Linked DNA regions of Homo sapiens: all the other regions are linked to region 3. The links are contacts of gene promoters, found by promoter capture Hi-C in blood cells and fetal thymus (Javierre and others, 2016). All regions are on one chromosome and are shown on one strand. The core of a region is centred on a gene start or on the middle of the fragment in contact, and the rest is flanking DNA. Distances in the headings are between cores, read along the strand shown.

What was found. Contacts are between HindIII fragments. The CHiCAGO score rates a contact against its expected background, and 5 or more counts as called.
Region 1: a fragment that was not itself captured here is called in contact with the fragment with the promoter of NDUFV2 in region 3 in 1 of 17 cell types (megakaryocytes); the score reaches 6.3 in megakaryocytes.
Region 2: a contact is called between a fragment that was not itself captured here and the fragment with the promoter of NDUFV2 in region 3, in 1 of 17 cell types (megakaryocytes). The highest score is 5.6, in megakaryocytes.

What each region holds. Positions count from the first base shown.
Region 1 is chr18:9,383,436-9,387,605 of GRCh38, forward strand. The region is part of intron 3 of TWSG1 (twisted gastrulation BMP signaling modulator 1); the gene reads left to right. Among named protein-coding and RNA genes, the nearest start is that of TWSG1, 51 kb to the left of the region's middle. The HindIII fragment of the contact is 1,593 bases long and covers 831-2,423 here.
Region 2 is chr18:9,401,335-9,405,734 of GRCh38, forward strand. TWSG1 (twisted gastrulation BMP signaling modulator 1) reads left to right here. Exons shown (of 5, transcript NM_020648.6): 5 at 1-1,086. LOC105371980 (a long non-coding RNA gene) reads left to right here and starts at 3,059. Exons shown (of 3, transcript XR_001753550.2): 1 at 3,059-3,462. The HindIII fragment of the contact is 739 bases long and covers 940-1,678 here.
Region 3 is chr18:9,100,212-9,104,053 of GRCh38, forward strand. It overlaps NDUFV2 (NADH:ubiquinone oxidoreductase core subunit V2), which reads left to right and starts at 2,488. Exons shown (of 8, transcript NM_021074.5): 1 at 2,488-2,586. The coding sequence starts at 2,533. RefSeq lists a silencer at 2,216-2,575 and an enhancer at 2,848-3,557. The HindIII fragment of the contact is 6,653 bases long and covers 1-3,842 here.

The sequences.
Region 1 (4,170 bases), core at 377-2,876, 280 kb after region 3:
CCCACCTCGGCCTCCCAAAGTGCTGGGATTACAGGCATGAGCCACTGCACCCGGCCTTGAATTACACTTTTAAATGATCATTCTGACTTTTATATGGAGGTAGATTTAAGGATGTAAAGAGAAGAAACAAATTAGGAGACTGTTGCAGTAGTTCAAGTAAAAGATTATGGTGGATTTGATTAGGATTACTGATAGCAGTGGAAATGGTGGCACTCAGATTCTGAAAATATTTTGGAGGGAAACTGTCAGAGTTTGGTTTGAATTGGATATAAGATCTGAGAAAAGGGAGGAATTAAAGTTGACCTATGAGGTAGGTAAAGTAGGGTGGATTTACAAATCAGTATCATTAAGGAATTGAAATTTTGGCCAGAGTGTTGAGTGAATCTTTGATGTGAATATTGAAATTGTCAAGAATGACAGTGGGTCCAGTGGTGGAAATGAGATAGTGATCCAGGTATTGAAGTTACTAGTAAGTAGGGGAGAAATGGCTGAGTATACAAAGATAATAGCCAAAAGGAGGGAAAAGGAATGGTAACATTAAATAATGTGTGTTTTAAAGGAGCTGGAGTTTTCTAAAGAGAATAGAAGACAGTTTAAAATCCCTTAAACAATTATGTTTCCAAATTCAGTCAAAATGTAATGGGGGCTTGGTCTAGGATGATAGCAGAGGAGATGAAGAGAGGTGGCCTCATTAGAAAAATAATTACAGGTTAAACTCGACTAGATTTGGTGACAGTTTGGAAATGGGAACTGAGGGGTGATGGGAGCCAGGAATAACCTTTAGGCTTCTGTTTATGTGACTGGATAAATTGTGACAGGGAACCAAGATAAGCTTATCTAAGACCCAGGTATGTTAGGGAAGATGACTGAGACAGTTGAATTTGAGGGGCCTATAAGGTTCCCAAGTGGCGATGTTCTGTAGGAAGTTGGATACAAATATCTGGAAGAAATGGATCAATGGATGAGTAGATTGATATGCAGGTAATGGTTGATCACATTTTCCAACTCCTTCAAGTTAATGTGACTTCTGGTTCAATATGATGGTCTAAATTCACATATTTTCTTCCCTTCCACTTAGGATGCCAGTAAAATGAAATAAAGGGATAAGATTGGAAATAACTCTAAAAACAAAGATAAATAAAAGGAACAATTGTAATTTGAGTCTGCATCAGATATCTAAAAGGAAAGACAAATGTGCTTATGTGCTTTCCCTTTTTTTTTTTTTTTGGAGACAAAGTCTTGCTCTGTCGCCCGGGCTGGAGTGCAGTGGCTCAACCTTGGCTCACTGCAACCTCCGTCTCCTGGGTTTAAGCTATTCTCTTGCCTCAGCCTCCCGAGTAGCTGGGACTACAGGCACATGCCACCATGCCTGGCTAATTTTTGTATTTTTAGTAGAGATGGGATTTCACCCTGTTGGCCAGGCTGGTCTTGAACTCCTGATCTCAGGTGATCCACCTGCCTCAGCCTCCCAAAGTGCTGGGATTTACAGGCATGAGCCACCACACCCGGCCCAGATGTGCTTGCTCTTTAGTAAACAGATTGGAAGGAACACCAAAACAAATTGCATAAAAGGGGGTTATGGTGAGAGTATGAGTGACCTTTCCGGCTAAACCCCAAAGAGGCTCCAGTTGCAGCTTTATGGAGTGTGGGTGTGAGAAATGAATTTGAAAATAGCGAGATTATTTGAAGATCTGTCTGTAGAACAGCTGTATGATTTGATAACCAATTCCCTCCTCCATTCGTCAGAAAAAGTTCCAAGTAATTAAGAAGTTTCTCTAGGAAAAAGAAATTGGAGAATTTCTTTCTAGAGAAATTGAAGGGAACTAGCTGAAAAGAAGTAGGGCCACTGATGTGTTATTGGTACCCAGGCAAGGCCTCCTCATTCAGGCATTGTAGGGAGGGAAGGTGTCTCCAGCCTAATGACTAGATGCGAAAGAAAAATAGAATAAGTGTAGCTTAAAAGAAAGAACGGGCCGGGCGCGGTGGCTCACGCCTGTAATCCCAGCACTTTGGGAGGCCGAGGCGGGTGGATCATGAGGTCAGGAGATCGAGACCATCCTGGCTAACAAGGTGAAACCCCGTCTCTACTAAAAAATACAAAAAATTAGCCGGGCGCGGTGGCGGGCGCCTGTAGTCCCAGCTACTCGGGAGGCTGAGGCAGGAGAATGGCGTGAACCCGGGAAGCGGAGCTTGCAGTGAGCCGAGATTGCGCCACTGCAGTCCGCAGTCCGACCTGGGCGACAGAGCGAGACTCCGTCTCAAAAAAAAAAAAAAAAAAAAAAAAAAGAAAGAACGAAGTAAAAAGCAGACCAAGGAGGAAATATTTAGGACATAAAAGAAATCTTTTAAAAACTGATTGTTATCTTTTAGAAAAAGTTAACAAAGTATCATGTCTGTATTATGAAAAACAATCAGAATAAGAAAGCTTTTGCAAATTTAAAATTCAAATGGGGCCGGGCATGGTGGCTCACACCTGTAATCCCAGCACTTTGGGAGGCCAAGGCGGATGGATCACCTGAGGTCAGGAGTTCGAGACCAGCCTGGCCAATATGGCGAAACCCCAACTCTACTAAAAATACAAAAATTAGCTAGGCGTGGTGGCGCATGCCTGTAGTCCCAGATACTCAGGAGACTAAGACAGGAGAATCGCTTGATCCCGGGAGGCGGAGGTTGCAGTGAGCCGAGATCGTGCCACTGATGCCTGAGCAACACAGCGAGAATCTGTCTCAAAAAAAAAAAAGAAGCCGAGTGTGGTGGCTCACACCTGTAATCCCAACGTTTTGGGAGATCGAGGTGGGCAGATCACCTGAGGTCAGGAGTTCAAGACCAGCCTGGCTAACATGGTGAAACCGCGTCTGTACTAAAAATACAAAAATTAGCCGGGCGTGGTAGTGGGCATCTGTAATCCCAGCTATTCAGGAGGCAGGAGAATTGCTTGAACCCAGGAGGCGGAGCTTGCAGTGAGCCAAGATCACACCACTGCACTCCAGCCCGGGTGACAGAGCGAGACTCCATCTCAAAAAAAAAAAAAAAGCAATTGGAAAAATAATAAGAGAGTCTGAAAATATTATTGGAGTGTCATAGAATATAGTGAAAACAGGCAGATAATATAACAGGGAAAGAATAGGCACTCCAGAAGAATTAAAAAAAAAAGAAAAAAGGAAGGAGGGAAGAAATTATCGAATAGTAGAAGAAAAATTACCAAAGCTGAGAAAAAAAACAGTGAGTCCTTAGGTTGAAAGAGCCTTCAGAATGCTGAGTGAGATGAGTGAAAAAAGACCTACATGTGGCACATCTTCACAAAATTTTACAACTTCTAGGTTAAAAAATATTCTAAAATATTTCAGAAAGAATAATAGAGTTTGTATACAAGAAGTTAAAAATCACACTGCCATCAGACTTCTCATCAGTATCACTGGGCCAATGACTTAAGTGGTTGGTGGGAAAACTATTTTGACCTGTCAAATTATCAGGAATGTGAATGTAAAATAGAAACATTTTTAGACAAATAAGAACTCAAAGTTTACTTCTCACCTACCGTTTCTAAAAGAATTAGTAGAGGATCAATCAAACAAAACAGGATAGAAAACCAAGAAAGATAACAACATGGGTTGAAGGAAGCAATAGCTTTAACCAGGAGTTCAGTTAAGGATAGCTGCAGAATGATAAGCACACAGGAGGCATGGGATGAAGCATTCTGACTGAAGCAGTAAGTGAAGAGAAGAAAGAAACTGGGTTCAAGCATATCATTGAGAAGCAGAATAAGTTTTCAAGATATGCTGAAACATTTTTGTGTGCTACAGAGAAAGAAAATTCCAAGCATAGAAATGCCAAGAAAAAACAAAACTGAACAAGAAAATAATTCTCCATAAAGGAATTAAATTTGGCGTTAATTTTTTATTATAAAAATATTGAAATATACACAGAAGTGGAGAGAATAGCATAATGAACTGTATATCCCTCACGCAGGTTCAGCAGTGGTCCAGAATATGCCACATTCACTTTATCCTTTTTTATTTCTTTGCTAAAGTATTTAAAAGCAAATTGCAGGCCGGGCGCGATGGCTCATGCGTAATCCCAGCACTTTGGGAGTCCGAGGTGGGCAGATCACCTGAGGCCAGGAGTTTGAGACCAGCCTAGTTAAAATGGCAAAACTTCATCTCTACTAAA
Region 2 (4,400 bases), core at 59-2,558, 300 kb after region 3:
GCAGTTCAACTCTGCTGTTTTTCAGTCATTTCCTACTGTGAGTGGAGTGATGTTTGTGTGTGTGTTGGCAACATGCCTAATGTTTTCTTAATGATGACAACAAATATTTTAAAACTGCATTTATCATTTTTTAGGTCTTCATTAAATTTTAAAATGTAATATCTGTTTCCCACCCCCTACATTAGGAGGATAATTTCTTAAACCACATTGTTTTAATTGATTTTTCTTATCTTGATTTCTTTCATTAGAAACTATCCCTAAATGTAAAGATCTTTTGCCTTCAAATTTGGCTTATTTTTTCTGATTTATGAGGGTTTGAAAGAAAGAATTCACCTAAAAGATTCCATTTCCAGTTTTATAATGTATTTCAGGTTCTGAATAACAATATTTTTCCAAATTGAAAGTAAATATTCCAGAAGTTGATAGCCTGGTTAAAAGTTAGATCCTCTATTACCATTCTAAGCACATTCACTTCTATATTGAAGTTTTGGTAAAAATTCTTTTTTCTTTTTTAATAAAAAATTAGGTTATTACTTTTTTTATAACCAGATTTTTAAAGCACTAGGTTTTAAATCAGTGGGTATCATAAAAGCCATATATAAAAGATCCTTTCTTATAGTAAGACTTGTGCTTGTTAGCAGGTTTTTCTGTTAGTTTTTCCCCCATAACATTTAATTATTACTAAAATTGTATTTACAATAGTGGTGCCAAATCAAATGGTAATTTAAATAAAATCTATTCTGTGTTTATGTAGGGTGGTATAAAAAAGAGGTCTTCATTTAGACATGTGATTTCTAAAATTCCAGAAAGCAAAATTGATAAGATGTTAGAAATTTGGACCATTATTTATAATCAGGGTAGCATTAAAATGGAGAAAAGAAAGTTTTCTGAAAAAATGCAGTAAATATAAGCCACATTTCTAAAGTTTATTTTTATGAAAGCTTCTTTTAAGATTTTGAAATCTATTCTGCATTCCCAAGAGTTTATGTTTATTGTATTTTATATGATCTACAACATATAAAATTGTGTATTTTTCTTTGGTTGTCCCTATTAACAAAAAAGTATTTTAATAAAAAATTGAAATGAGTGAGTCATATTTTTTGTTAACTTCAGCATAGACATAAATTTGACATTCTGTCTAAAGAAGATAGTGTTTAAGTGATCAGCGGGCCGGGTGCGGTGTCACTTTGGGAGGCTGAGGTGGGCAAATCACTTGATCTCAGGAGTTCAAGACCAGCCTGGGCAACATGGTGAAACCTCGTCTTTACAAAAATAAAAAAATTATCCGGGCATGTTGATGAGAGGTGAAGCCACCTGGACTTCTTGTTTCGAGTGGGGACTTGGAGAACTTTTCTGTCTTACAAGAGGATTGTAAAATGCACCAATCAGTGCTCTGAAGCTAGCAAGAGCATTGTAAAATGCACCAATCAGTGCTCTGTAAAACACACCAATCAGCGCTCTGTAGCTAGCAAGAGGGTTGTAAAATGCACCAATCAGTGCTCTGTAAAACACACCAATCAGCAGGATCCTAAAAGTAGCCAATCGCAGAGAGGATTGAAAAAAGGGCACTCTGATAGGACAGAAACAGAACATGGTGGGGAGGGGCCAATAAGGGAATAAAAGCTAGCCACCCCAGCCAACAGCGGCAACCAGCTCGGGTCCCCTTCCACCCTGTGGAAGCTTTGTCCTTTTGCTCTTCACCATAAACCCTGCTATTGCTCTCTCTTTGGGTCCGTGCCATCTTTAAGAGTTGTAACACTCACTGAGAAGGTCTGCGGCTCCATTCTTGAAGTCAGCAAGACCACGAACCCACCAGCAGGAGCCAACTCCAGACACAGTAATTATGTGCCTGTAGTCCCACCTACTCTAGAGGCTGAGGTGGGAGGATCACTTGAGCCCAGGGAGGCGGAAGCTGCAGTGAGCCCTGATTGTGCCACTGCACCTCTGCCTGGGTGACAGAGCAAGACCCTGTCTTAAAAAACAAACAAACAAAAAAAACAATCAGCAAAGAATGTTCTTTTCTCAGGATGTCTCTACAGATTCTCTCAGAACAGATCTTAGAACATTTTGCTGTCTGCTTTTTCATATGCTTTATTCCAATATGGGGGAACCTTTTAAATGAATACTTTACTATTCTGCTTGCTCTGTGGGCCTTCAGATGCCAACCAACTTTATAAGAATGATCTAAAGGTTGCAAGGAGTTGCAGAAGGATCAAGGTAGGGAAAAACCTTTCTCAGCTCTCCCACAGGATACTGTTAGAATTGAGAGCCACAAACTGTGCTGCCATGGCAAAATCCACCTTATTTCAGAGTCCATGTTTTGGCAGCCTCGTGCCTGGGGGATCTAGAGAGGGGAAGAACTCAAGAGGACAGCCTGAGTGACTTAAGAAAGGAGCTGGGGCATTCGGAAGGTAGGATGAGTTTCAAGGACAGATACAACGTTTGACCAGGAAAGCTGTGCTTTTGCTGAAGGTGTCCACACAGCAGCTAGTCATGTGGACAGTCAGAGAGAGTGAAGCTGAGCTGGAAGGGGAGGCATCCAAGCCCAAGGCTCCAGGAGACATTGCAGACAACATGGCGCATCCGGCCCCATGGGGCTGCTCCAGACCTGGCAGGCACTGAGCTCAGTAAGCCAGGCAGACATGCCATTAGCGCCATTAGCTGGTGGGTGTTAGCCATTACAGCTCTTTGACCTTTGAGCTTTAACTAACCAGTAAAAAGTAAATGTGGGCCAGGCGCAGTGGCTCACGCCTGTAATCCCAACACTTTGGGAGGCGGAGGCGGGCAGATCACCTGAGGTTAGGAGTTCGAGACCAGCCTGGCCAACGTGGTGAAACCCCGTCTCTACTAAAAAATACAAAAATTAGCCAGGTGTGGTGGCACGTGCCTGTAATCCCAGCTACTCAGGAGGCTGAGGCAGGAGACTCGCTTGAAGCCGGGAAGCGGAGGTTGCAGTGAGCCGAGAATGCGCCGCTGCCCTCCAGCCTGGGCCACAAGAGTGAAACTCCGTCTCAATTAAAAAAAAAAAAAAAAAGTATGTTCTACCTCCTTTTATTTTAAAGTCTGCTTGAAGTGTGGAGTCAGCAACAACTCCAAGGTTTGGCTTTTGAGATGAGAATTCTCCGTGCAGATGCAAAGAGGAAAAGAATTCTGCCCCCTCCCAGTAATGCTGGGAAACCTGGAGTCCGCGCTGTGACTCACCGAATGACGCCTGGAGAGTGCAGGCGCCCCGCCAGTCAGGGAGACAGGACTTCCCTCACTGGGCTGAAGATAGCCCCTGAAGTTAGGCACAGTCACCGGCGAAATATCTTTATGGCAGAAATGTGTTTCCTGCCCGTCTAACTTAGGTACTTCCCTCTGCAGCCAGCGTAATCTTTCTAGAACACGTGTACCGGTAATTACTGCTTCCACCCCCAGTTCTAGGCAAAGAGCAAGGCCGTTGCGCTCGTCTGCCTCGGAAAGGTATGAGTTACCCACTAGGAAGTCGAGCAAGGGCAGAGAACCTATCTCTTGTTTTCCTGAAGCCTCCCTGGCTCCGGGGTGTTCTGCTAGGGGAAGGGAGAGAATGAGGCCTTTGAGGGCCTGAGAGAGGGGCCAGGAAGGTAGGTCCCAGAGGCCCAGGTCTCTTGACCGTGGAGACCAGCGCTCTCGGCCCGTGACTCACGGGAAACCCGAGCCTGCAGTTGCTTCTTTCCAGGGGTTTCTACTTAGAAATATTAGCAGCCCAGCCCTCATTGTCCAAAGCCCCCAAGACTTGCCACCAGGGTTCTGTGAGTCCCAAGATGGGTGGCAGAGCCTCTCTCCTGGCCAGTGTTGGATGGGATGAGGCTCAGAGTCGGATTTTACTTGATTCCAAGAAAACAATGAGACAGAATGCGTTGCAGCCCTGGGTTTGTGGACTGCATTTGTGTCCCAAGACTCCTTGTCTCACAGCCTCGGCTGGCATCTCCTCTTCCTGTCTCATGTCTTATCCCCACTCCCATCACTGCTGACCCCTGCCTCAGCAGGCCAAGCTCGTGCTGCCGTCTCTCTCACCCTCAGGCTGTCGCAGGAGTTGTTTCCCCTGCTGGACCTGCTTTCTGTGCAGATTGTGGCTCCTTGCTCTGACCTCCCTTTTTTTTTTTTTTTTTTTTTTTTGAGATGGGGTCTCCGTCTGTCACCCAGGCTGGAGTGCAGTGGCACCATTTTGGCTCACTGCAGCCTTCGCCTCCCTGGCTCAGCGATCCTCCTCACCTCAGCCTCACAAGTAGCTGGGTTCACAGGTGCACACCACAATGCCTGGCGAATTTTTTGTTATTTTTGACAGAGACGGGGTTTTGCCGTGTTGGCCAGGCTGGTCTCAAACTCCTGAGTTCAAGTGATCCACCCGCCTCAACCTCCCAAAATGCTGGGATTACAGG
Region 3 (3,842 bases), core at 1,238-3,737:
TTTCCCTTGGCTTAGTGATTTGGGGGTCCCGAGATTTATTTTCCTTTCACATTCTCCTAATAAAGCCATGAGGAAGGTACCATTATTAAACCAAAGCCCAGAGAGACTAACTTGCCTAAAGTCACGCAGCTAGAAAGCAGCAGCTGAACCCCCGTAGTCTGATTCTAGAGTATTCCCTCTTAACCACTATGTCTTGTAAGCCAATGAGACAAGAAGGCTGCTGGAGGAACATCTGGGACACTTTAGAGGTAAGAGTTCTTTTTCTTCTTTGGAATGTTGTCATTTGTACATGATACTTGGAACTGCTGCAGATATCTTGTGTCTATAATAGGAGTCACGGCTGAGTATGTTGGAGTAAAAAGATGGAAGCCACTAAACATTTTGAAGACATCCTTGAGCAAGGTTGAATTAACTAACCTTGGAGCTACTCTACCTCTGGAATTGTTTTTCATGTGAGAAAATGAACCCAGTATCCTTTAATCTACTTGTTAGAACTCCTGTTACTTGTAGCGAAAAGCACTCTCACCGATACACATAGAAACAAGCATAATTCTGACCTAAGACAAATAGAAATGAGCATAATTCTAACCCTTTTAGGTAGGCAGAATATTTGCACTATGGGCAAGATTTTCATTCAGACAACAAATATTTATTGAATGCCTTCTACTTGCCAAGTATAGTGCAAGTTGCTGAACCAAACAATATAGGAAGGGCAGGTTTCTCCATCCATGGAGGTTATAATCTGGTCGTAAATGTAGTAGTGAAAGTGCGGGCAGGCATATTTTGGGACGGTATCTTGAGGACTAATCTGGATTGGGAGTCAGAGAATGCCCTAATAAAATCCAGTAAAAGCATGCATTACAGATTCAAAAAGAATCCATATAATGTCTATCTCATCCATCAAGTATTTGTGACATGTTTTGGCTTTAGTTGTATAAGAACAGTAAGTATGTGCACAATAGTGTTAGGTGTATAAGTATTTTTATTTTTTATTTTTTATTTTTGAGACGGAGTCTCGCTCCGTCGCCCAGGCTGGAGTGCAGTGGCGCGATCTCGGCTCACTGCAAGCTCCGCCTCCCGGGTTCACGCCATTCCCCTGCCTCAGCCTCCCGAGTAGCTGGGACTACAGGCGCCTGCCACCATGCCCGGCTAATGTCTTGTATTTTCAGTAGAGACGGGGTTTCACCGTATTAGCCAGGATGGTCTCGATCTCCTGACCTCGTGATCTGCCCACCTCAGCCTCCCAAAGTGCTGGGATTACAGGCGTGAGCCACGCGCCCGGCCAGGTGTATAAGTATTTAGGTAACTTTATAACAAAATACATTTACATTAAGGGCCAGACTGTCTTTTCCTTTTAAAGGGAAATACTGAAGCTAATTTAGGAGAGGCAAACTAACATAAAATATAAGGCAAAGGAGTGGGAACCAAGGCATTTGGTATCTATTTCTAGCTCACTGGGCAGCAGTCCTCTGTGTCTTGAATTCTGTGATTTGCGAAATATGATTCATAGGGGTTGCAATGGAATATTTCTGAGTTTTTAAACTAATGAGGGATAAATTTTTAAAATCCCTGTGCTGCTGTGAATGTTCTAGAAATTATTCACAAGTTTATTATAGCAAAGAAAATGGGCAAAAGGAAGGGGGTGGGTACAGGACGTGACACTCCAGAAAAGAAGGCAGTGACGTAAAAAATCAAGAGGAAGTCCACACCAGGAAATAGTGCTGTGCACATTAGAGCTGTTACTGAATAAATACTTGTTGGAATTTCCAGAGATAACCAAACAAACATGAAGAAGGAAGTGGGTTTTTTTTTCAGCTTTATTATGGAAAATATCTAATATGTACAAAAGTACCGAGAATAGTAAATAAGAACGACCATGCAGCTTCTATGGCCTTACTTAACGGCCAACTTGCTTTATTTTTCACCTCCCGCTCCCCACTATTCTCAAGCAAATTCCAGACATCATACCATTTAACCCCTAAATATGTCGCACATATCTCTAATGCAAAAGATTGGGAACCAAGACATTTGGTGTCTATGGCTAGCACACTGGATAGCAGCCCTCTGTGTCTTGAATTCGTAACATGTAGAATAAGATTTATAGTGGGTTGCAACCCGACTTTATTTTTAACTAACAGCAATATAAGAGGAGGTGGCTAATCCTCACAAGGCTCTCCATGAGGGAAGCTCACCCCTATAAATCCAGGCGGGCGCTTCGTTACCCAGGAGCCCAAGGTGCAGCTCCGGGACGCTTCTTTTCAAGGCCGGGACCCCTGCAGCGGCCCGTAGGACACCTCCCTTTCCGAGCACGGACTGGTCCCCGCCCCTCCCCCGGGAAGTCTCCGCCCACAGGGCCCCAGCAGCCCCCGCGCGCCCTCGCTCCCTCCCGTCAGCCCCCGCCCCTCGGCGAAGGGAGCGGCGTGCCGTCCGGGTCGCCTAGGCCTGGGGTCGGGAGCGCGCACGCTGTGCGCCCTGGGCGCGCTCGGGATTCTCGCCTGGCGCGGCTGGGGAAGGTGAACAGTGTGGCCCGCCATGTTCTTCTCCGCGGCGCTCCGGGCCCGGGCGGCTGGCCTCACCGCCCACTGGGTAAGGAGGCTCAAGCTGAGCCCGGCGCTGCCGCCGCCCTTCTCTTGCTCTCCGTGTCTCCCTTAGTTTTGGGCGCAGGAGAGCCCTGGGCTCTGCACGGGCCTGCAGGCGGCGGCAAGGACACTGCGGCCTTAGCCCTCTTAGGGAGGCCGCTGCAGCCCCACCGTGAGAAGCCCCGAGGGAGGGTTGCCATACTGGGAAGTGTACTCCTAGTTTGGTCGAGGAGGACAGAAAAGAGGGGCTGCTTGGTGATATATATATATATGTTTGTTTGTTTTTGCTGTTTTGCTGTAGCGCAGAATCTAGGCCTGCTCTGGCCAGATCAGTTTCGAAGACCGTCGCTCCGAAGGAGGCACCTCTCGTTTCAAGCCTAGTGACCTCGATGCTTTTAGGTTGCAGCATACTGGAGAGCTCTGGCTTGCTTCGTGAAGGCTTAGGGAGAACTTCATTAGGGCTGGAAAAGGGTGGCCAATGTTTGATTTACTGCAGTTGTGCTTTGCATATCGGAAATGCTGGCTAAATAAACGGTATCAAACTAACTCTGAAAGAACGGCGCCGCAAATAACAGCACCCAATTAAAGAACCACAGGATTTTAGAGATTAAATGATCTTTTTGAGATCCAAGTACATCTCATGGTAGGCAAGGAAATTGAATTGCAGAGAAGTTGAAACACTCCTTCACGTTAATCTAAAAATGCAGATTTCCAGAAATGTCGATTATAACAACAGGGCCTGTTACACAAGTAATACTGGAAAGAAGCCTTAGTTTTGTTTGTTTTCTAAGAGTGAAATAGGTTAAGTCAGTTCTCAGCAAGAGGGAGCTAGTGTATATTCATTGAGAATGAATTCAGGGCTTTAGAGTTAGACTCGAGTTTGGATGTTAGCTTAACTGCCTTTTGTGGCTCTATGACTTTGTGCTGTTAATCTTCCTCAGTTTCTTCAGTTGTAAAATGGGAATATTCCTTTTTGCAGAGTTCAGTCTTTCAATAAACATTTGAAGTCTTACTGTACGTCATGCACTGCTGAGCTCTAGTTAACAGTGTGGATAATAATGATAGTCATTTGATAACTGTTTTCTGTATGCCAAGCACCGAGTTAAATATCTACATTCCACATCTCATTTTTGAGGCTGGTATTACTTTTTCCTCATATTACAGATAAGGAAAAGATTTAGACAGTTCCCGTTCTTTTGGAATTGATAGTCTCATGTAAGAGGAACTTTAAGGTTGAGACAATGTAAAAGTACAGTGTTAGAG